Linked DNA regions of Homo sapiens: regions 1 and 2 are each linked to region 3. The links are contacts of gene promoters, found by promoter capture Hi-C in blood cells and fetal thymus (Javierre and others, 2016). All regions are on one chromosome and are shown on one strand. The core of a region is centred on a gene start or on the middle of the fragment in contact, and the rest is flanking DNA. Distances in the headings are between cores, read along the strand shown.

Evidence for each region. The method cuts DNA at HindIII sites, captures the fragments that hold promoters and counts their contacts. A CHiCAGO score of 5 or more calls a contact.
Region 1: a fragment that was not itself captured here is called in contact with the fragment with the promoter of RHOV in region 3 in 2 of 17 cell types (M0 macrophages and M1 macrophages); the score reaches 6.5 in M0 macrophages.
Region 2: a fragment that was not itself captured here is called in contact with the fragment with the promoter of RHOV in region 3 in 1 of 17 cell types (M0 macrophages); the score reaches 5.6 in M0 macrophages.

The regions. Positions count from the first base shown.
Region 1 is chr15:40,698,494-40,701,193 of GRCh38, forward strand. It overlaps RAD51 (RAD51 recombinase), which reads left to right. Exons shown (of 10, transcript NM_002875.5): 2 at 264-352; 3 at 2,571-2,700. The coding sequence starts at 266. Among named protein-coding and RNA genes, the nearest start is that of RAD51, 4.7 kb to the left of the region's middle. The HindIII fragment of the contact is 2,216 bases long and covers 320-2,535 here.
Region 2 is chr15:40,654,115-40,656,814 of GRCh38, forward strand. KNL1 (kinetochore scaffold 1) reads left to right here. Exons shown (of 26, transcript NM_144508.5): 22 at 795-863. Among named protein-coding and RNA genes, the nearest start is that of RAD51-AS1, 40 kb to the right of the region's middle. The HindIII fragment of the contact is 3,025 bases long and covers 1-2,700 here.
Region 3 is chr15:40,872,946-40,875,645 of GRCh38, forward strand. It overlaps RHOV (ras homolog family member V), which reads right to left and starts at 1,289. Exons shown (of 3, transcript NM_133639.4): 1 at 987-1,289; 2 at 739-797; 3 at 1-556. The coding sequence starts at 1,194. The coding sequence ends at 113. LOC124903475 (a long non-coding RNA gene) reads left to right here and starts at 797. Exons shown (of 2, transcript XR_007064600.1): 1 at 797-978; 2 at 1,365-1,643. RefSeq lists a silencer at 824-1,343. The HindIII fragment of the contact is 13,617 bases long and covers 1-2,700 here.

The DNA.
Region 1 (2,700 bases), core at 178-2,677, 170 kb before region 3:
CTTTTTTAGATTCTACATATGAGTGAGATCATGCAGTATTTGTCTGCAAACACATTTATAATGTATAATGGGGTATATAAAAATAAGTAAAACTTGGCCCCTACACTGAAGGAATATAAAGCAGGAGAACAGAGAGGCACAATAAGAGAATGGCCTTGGCTTTTCCTAAAGTCTTTTTGATACGACTAGCTAGATAGAAGATGGGGAGAGAGATGCACCTTATTTCTCTAGTGTTTATACTGATAAGCATTTGTATTTTTCAGTAATGGCAATGCAGATGCAGCTTGAAGCAAATGCAGATACTTCAGTGGAAGAAGAAAGCTTTGGCCCACAACCCATTTCACGGTTAGAGGTATGTGGTTAGTTGCTAATTTTGGAATTATATACTAGATTCTTCTACCTAGTGGAAGGTATTACAACCTTTACATAAAATATAGGTTTACTACCAAGGTCAAGACCCAAATTAGACTTTTCAGAAGTGTTGTCAATAATCCTGTGGAAAGGCTGCAGATCATTGCTAAATATGTCTGGCAGGGCCTCTTCCTTTGTCAACAATTCTCTTCCTACTTTATCATTTTTATTTCTGAGAGTTGGACTGTCAGAAACTAAGGCCTAGGATCCCATGGTGGAATCTCTGTGCTGTTTTTGTTTGTTTGTTTGTTTGTTTTTGATGGAGTTTCGCTCTTGTTGCCCAGGCTGGAGTGCAATGGCGTGATCTCGGCTCACCGCAACCTCTGCGTCCCAGGTTCAAGCGATTCTCCTGCCTCAGCCTCCCAAGTAGCTGGAATTACAGGCATGAGCCACCACACCCAGCTAATTTTATATTTTTAGTAGAGACAGGGTTTCTCCATGTTGGTCAGGCTAGTCTCGAACTCCTGACCTCAGGTGATCCACCCTCTTTGGCCTCCCAAAGTGCTGGGATTACAGGCATGGGCCACTGCGCCCAGCCTGTGCTGTTTTTTTGTTTGTTTTTTAAGAAATGGGTCTTAACTGTGTTGACCATGTTGATCTTGAACTCCTGGCCTCAAGCAGTCCACCTGCCTTGGCGTCCCAAACTGCTAGGATTACAGGCATGAGCCACCATGCCTGGCCAAAGCATCCTGTGCTATTTGCACTAAGTATGAAAGTGCTGTTCTGGGAATTATAGCGGCCTGGACCAGTTATGCAAGGAAGACAGGGAAGCACCTTCTCTCCATTAACCTAGATTTGTGCTGTCAGCTGTCATTGGCAGAGAGAAGGGTGTGGTGGTGTTATGGTATAAGAGACAAGCTCCAATTCAGGATTCTGCACAAGAACATTAAGCACCAGAGCTGAGGCCTTACACTATTTCTGCCCATTGTATAGAGACTGCCCTGTGAGTGCAGCTGATTTGGGCTAAGTAGGAGGAAAGCAGAGAAAGACTTGATTCTTCTGTCTCTTTTTTTCATATTTCCCATCTCTGACTAATCTTCAAGACTCTAGAAGTTAGGAGTGCAAAAGGCTAATAAAAAAAAAAGACTCTAGAAGTTACTTAAATGGATTTGTGATAAACATTTGAAAGTTCAGAGTCATAACTTCTGGTGCCATGAGCATCCTTATACTCAAACATGCATATTGCTTAAATATTAATAGCAGACATGGCTTATGTTGGCAAACTAATCTCTCCCCTCTTCTAAATTCTCCCAACCCCTGAATGCACCCACATTCACCTACTAACTCATGTTTTCCCAGAAGTCATGGTTTTGGTGGCTAATGAAACCAAAGCTGACTTGAATATAGGAAGAAAGAGGTGTCTTTGGGTGGTTTGTTTTGAGAAGAGGTATAAAAGTCCCTGACAAAAAGTAGTTTTCCTCACTGTTAATGTCAGTTGTTAGAGCAGAGCTTTCTGGTCATTGTTCAACAAAAAGTATTGACAGGCCAAGATAGTGCTCTTTATATTCTGAGCAGCCTTATCTATTTACCCTACCATAGTGTAAAAATACAGTTTTTTATGTGTGCTTGATGTGGAAAGTGTTGAGCAACACTGTCTTAAAGTGGTCTTGTAGGGCCCAAGGTCTCAGAGATCATTTAGGGTCACAAAAAAAGGTTGGGAGTTACTTTTTAATTCCAATTGCTAATAGGAGTTCTTTTTAATGTACATGGCTTAGTGCTAGTTTAAAATTATTGATTTTGATAATGAAAAGGTTGTTAATTTGTTATTAAGTACCTCATATATAGGGCTCATTTTTCAGCTTTTGCATATAATAACAGTAGGCTCTCTGTATCTCCGGATTCTGTATCAGCAAATTCAACAAACTACGTATCAAAAATTCAATCAACTACATATCAAAAAAAAGTATACAGGAGGATGTACATAGGTTATATGCAGGTAATACGCCATTTTATATAAGGGACTTGAGCATTGTTGGATTTTGTTATCTGCTGGGGGTCCTGGAACCAACTTCCCATCTCCCCCCGCCCCCCCAAGGATTTCAAGGGACAGTTGTATTACAAGTCTTCAAGCACCTCTGTGAAGTATGTAGGACACATAACATCTGTGTTAGATTAGAGAACTAAAGCTTAAATTTATCCATGGTTTTCTTCATTTGCAGCAGTGTGGCATAAATGCCAACGATGTGAAGAAATTGGAAGAAGCTGGATTCCATACTGTGGAGGCTGTTGCCTATGCGCCAAAGAAGGAGCTAATAAATATTAAGGGAATTAGTGAAGCCAAAGCTGATA
Region 2 (2,700 bases), core at 201-2,700, 220 kb before region 3:
GAAAATATGTAACAAAGCATTCAATAAAGAGAAAATAATCAATTCAGGAGACAGTTAACTCTAGAGTCTGGGGGAGCGAGCAGCTATCTCAGCTACCTAAAATGTATTATAGCAATGCTAAAAGCATAACTCATTTTTACTGTATTTATACAATGATAGGAGTTGTAGAGAGATGATAGCCATTTTCCTTATATGATTGCTGAAAATAAAATTATCTTTGCACAGAAGTTAGGGGTTAAAAGAGGAGGCCTTAACAAATATAGCTGTGTACTACCTTTTAAATGTCCTTCAAAGACATACCAATCAATGTAGTTGAACAGTCTCAGGGGAGCCTTTACTAGATACAGAGAATAATGATTCAAGGATAACCCTTCAACTTCCTGTGGAAAAAACTCTGCTACACAGAAGGAGTAGGATTCTAAAGTACTGAGTTTTATGTGACTTCAAATCAGGTAGTTTAAAAAAAAAAAAAAGGCCAGGCACGGTGGCTCATGCCTGTAATCCCAGCACTTTGGGAAGCTGAGGTAGGCGGATCACGAGGTCAGGAGATCGAGACCATCCTGGCTAACATGGTGAAACCCCGTGTCTACTAAAAGTACAAAAAATTAGCCAGGTGTGGTGGCGGGCGCCTGTAGTCCCAGCTACTCAGGAGGCTGAGGCAGGAGAATCGCTTGAACCTGGGAGGCTGAGCTTGCAGTGGGCCAAGACTGCGCCATTGCACTCCAGCCTGGGAGACAAAGTGAGACTCTCTGTCTAAAAAAATTTTTAAAAATCATTATTCTGGTTCTTTCTAGTTGGTTTCCCTTTCCTGGACAAGCGTTATAGGAAGATTGTTGATGTCAATTTTCAATCTCTGTTAGATGGTAAGTAGAAAACATTTAAGCCTCTAAAAATTTGTTGGGGCTGGGCACTATGGCTCATGCCTTTAATCCCAGCACTTTGGGAGGCTGAGGCGGGTGGATCACCAGGGGTCAGGAGTTTGAGACCAGCCTGACTAACATGGTGAAACCCCGTCTCTGCTAAAAATACAAAAACTAGCCGGGTGTGATGGTGCCCTCCTGTAGCCCTAGCTACTCAGGAGGCTGAGACAGGAGAATCACTTGAACCTGGGAGGTGGAGGTTGTGGTGAGCCAAGATTATGCCACTGCAGTCCAGCCTGGCAACAGAGTGAGACCTTGTCTCAAAAATAAAAAATAAGGCTGGGCACGGTGGCTCATGCTTGTAATCCCAGCACTTTGGGAGGCCGAGGAAGGCAGATCACAAGGTCAGAGGCTCGAGACCAGCCTGGCCAACATGATGAAACCCATCTCTACTAAAAATACAGAAATTAGTTGGGCGCGGTGATGGGTGCCTGTAATCCCAGCTACTCAGGAGTCTGAGGCAGGAGAATCGCTTGAACCTGGGAGACGGAGGTTGCAGTGAGCCGAGATTGCGCCACTGCACTTCAAGCTGGGTGACAGAGCAAGGCTCCATCTCAAAAAAAAAAAAAAAAAAAAAGATTTAAAAAAAATTATTACATGCCGGGCATGGTGGCTCACGCCTGTAATCCCAGCACTCTGGGAGGCCTAGGCGGACGGATTACAAGGTCAGGAGATCGAGACTATCCTGGCTAACACGGTGAAACCCCGTCTCTACTAAAAAATACAAAAAAATTAGCCGGGCGTGGTGGCTGGCGCCTGTAGTCCCAGCTACTTGGGAGGCTGAGGCAGGAGAATGGCGTGAACCCGGGAGGCGGAGCTTGCAGTGAGCCGAGATCGCGCCACTGCATTCCAGCCTGGGCGACAAAATGAGACTCCGTCTCAAAAAAAAAAAAAAAAATTATTACTGGGTCTTGAGCAATGATTAATAGTAGCTATTTTCATAATTTAAAAATTACTGTTATGAGCACTTAGTCTGTATCAGGCATGTGTATTACTTAAATTAACACTATGAAGTCCATGCGATTTGTTCCCCATTTTACAAATTAGGAAACTACAGATCAAAAAACTTAAGTATTGTGTCTAGGATCACTTAGGTATTAAAGAAAGCCAGGATTGCTGGGTGCCGTGGCTCACACCTGTAATCCCAGCACTTTGGGAGACCAAGGCGGGCGGATCACTGGAGGTCAGGAGTTCAAGACCAGCCTGGCCAACATAGTGAAACCCTGTCTCTACTAAAAATACGAAGAAATTAGCTGGGCATTGTGGTGTGTGCCTGTAGTCCCAGCTACTCGGGAGGCTGAGGCAGGAGAATTGCCTGAATCCGGGAGGCGGAGGTTGCAGTGAGCTGAGATCATGCCACTGCACTCCAGCCTGGGCAATAGAGTGACACTCCGTCTCAAAAAAAGAAATGAAATCCAGGATTTAAACTCAGGTCTGTGTTACATGTAAACCCACACTCTTACTCAAGTACTGTTTCTATATGTGATAAAGTCTTGAGTTTTTGTAGAAATGTCCTATCTTCACCATACATGTTATAATCATGTTTGAAAATAAAAATGGAGAGAATACATCTGGGCATGGTGGCTCATGCCTGTAATCCCAGCACTTTGGGAGGCCAAGGCGGGTGGATTACCTGACATCAGGAGTTCAAGAGCAGTCTGTCCAAAATGGTGAAGCCCCCTCTCTACTAAAAATACAAAAAGTAGCCGGGTATGGTGGCAGACGCCTGTAATCCCAGCTACTCAGGAGGCTGAGGCAGGAGAATTGCTTGAACTGGGAA
Region 3 (2,700 bases), core at 39-2,538:
GAGTCCTATGAGGTGGCCAGGCCCTGCCAGTAGCTGCCGCAAAGGCCCGGGTGCCCCAGGTCTCAGAAGTCTTTGGCCTCCTGCCTACTACTTGCTATGCAGCCATAGCTGCTCAAACGAAGCAGAAGAACTTCTTCCAGCGGCAGCGGGAGAGGGTGCGCACACCTTTGGCATTCAGTTTCTTCTCCAGCCGGGCTTTGTGCTCAATGGCACTGAGAATAGCCGAGTCAAATACTTCCTTCAAGTTCTTCTGCGTCAAGGCTGAGCACTCAAGGTAGCAGCAGGCTCGGATCTTCTCGGCCAGACCCTGAGCCTGGGGTTGGGGCACGGGGCCCTCCCGGCCCCCCTGGTCCAGCTGAATTAGTACGTTGACATCGTCCCTCAGGTCGGCCTGGGTGCCCACCAGCAGCACAGGCGCCTGGGGGTTGTGCGTGCGGATCTCGGGCAGCCATTTCTCTGTGATGTTTTGAAAGGAGCTGGGCTGCACCACGCTGAAGCACGCCAGGAAGACATCGGTATCCGGGTAGCAAAGGGAACGAAGTCGGTCAAAATCCTCCTGGGGTGGGAAGGCCAGGTGGTAAGGATTAGCCCCCCGACACATGGAATCCATTTCTCACCCGGGGCTGGAAACCTGAGACTCCAAGAGCCCAAGGCTTTCTCCATTTGCTCCATATGGGGTCCTCCCAGCCTCCAGCCCATCTCCCCGCAGACCAGTAGAGGCCGCGCCCAGCTTCTCACCTGTCCCGCTGTGTCCCAGAGCTCAATGCGCACCGGAGCTCCATCCACCAGGACTTGCACTGCAGGGGCGGGGCGGGGAGAGCCTGAGTTAGGAAGAGCGTCCTGGGCCGCACCAGCGCCACCTCGGGGCCTGCTCCAGTCTCCTCCCCGGGGTCCTCTGCGCCCTCCCGCCGAGACGCCCGCCCCAGCTCCCCGGTGCACAGCCCCGCCGCAGCCACGCGGCCGCACGGGCGATTGAACGTACGTACCAGAGAAGGTGTCCAGCGCAGTGGGCCGGTAGCGCGCGGGGTACCCATTGCAGGTGTAGCTGACGATGAGGCTGCTCTTGCCCACGGCGCCGTCGCCCACCAGCACGCACTTGATGCCCAGCTCTGGGGGCGCGCTACGCCGCCGCGGGGGAGGGGTCGGGGCCCGGAGCGGGGGCGGCTCGGCCTCGCTCAGCTCCCGCGGCGGCATGGCCCGCTCCGGGGGCAGCAGAGGGGCCAGCCCGGGTCTCGGCTTCGCTGCGCTCGGTGAAGCAGGTCCCGCTGGCTGCCTCTGACTGAATGGGTCCAGGCTGGGCGAGTCGGCCCAGCGCTACCAGCGGGTTTGTGTAGGGCCCCGCCCATCTCATCTACATGTTTCAGGCGGCCCCGGACCCCACCCATCGGCGAAGATCTCCCGCGGCCAGGCACCCTGCGAGGCCAGGCGAGGAGGAGGAAAACCCCGGGAGGAGGAAAGGCAGGCAGAAAGCTGGAGCTCCAAGAGTCACGCAGGTACAAGGACAAAGAATCGTCAAATGAGAATACCAAGAAGAGATAGACATCCATGATTTATTGTTAGGAGGAAGAAGCAAGTTGCAGAACATATAATACAGTATGTTCAGGTTAAACAAGTGTGCAAATTAAACCTTGTTCAACTTACAAGAAACAACTCTATGCATATGTTTGCATGAGTATTAAAAAGTTGGGATAATTTTATTAATGAAAGAATTACTTTTTTAAATATTGAGGCTGAGAGCAGTGGCTCATGCCTGTAATTCCAGCGTTCTGGGAGGCTAAGCCAGGAGGATCACTTGACCCCAGGAGTTCAAGGTTACAGTGAGCTATAATAGTGCCATTGCACTTCAGCATGTGTGACAGATCCTAAAAACAAACAAACAAACAAAAAACCTGTTGACCCCTGAACAAAGCGGGAATTATGGGCGAGAAACCCTGTGCAGTCAGCCGAAAATCCCTATATAACTTTTGACTACCCCAAAATTTAACTATTAATAGCCTGCTGTTGCTGGGCTCCGTGGCTCACGCCTGTAATCCCAGCACTTTGGGAGGCCGAGGTGGGTGGATCACCTGAGGTCAGGAGTTCGAGACCAGCCTGGCCAACATGGTGAAACCCCGTCTCTATTAAAAATACAAAAAATTAGCCAGGTGTGGTGGCGGGTGCCAGTAATCCTAGCTACTCAGGAGGCTGAGGCAGGAGAATCACTTGGACCTGGCAGGTGGAGGTTGCAGTGAGCCAAGATTGGGCCACTCCACTCCAGCCTGGGTGACAGAGCAAGACTCTCTCTTAAAAAACAAAAACAAAAAACCCCCCAAAAAAAGTAGCCAAGCATGGTGGTGTGCATCTGTAATCCCAGCTACTCGGAGGCTGAGGTGGGAGGATGGCTTGAACCTGGGAGGTGGAGGTTGCAGTGAGCTGAGATCATGCCATTGCACTCCAGCCTGGGCAACAGAGCCAGACTTTGTCTCAAAAATAAATAAATAAATAAATAAAAAATAGGCTGGGCGCAGTGGCTCACACCTGTAATCCCAGCATTTTGGGAGGCTGAGGCGGGCAGATCACATCACGAGGTCGGGAGATCCAGACCATCCTGGCTAACACGGTGAAACCCCGTCTCTACTAAAAATACAGAAAATTAGCCGGGCATGGTGGTGGGCGCCTGTAGTCCCAGCTACTCGGGAGGCTGAGGCAGGAGAATGGCGT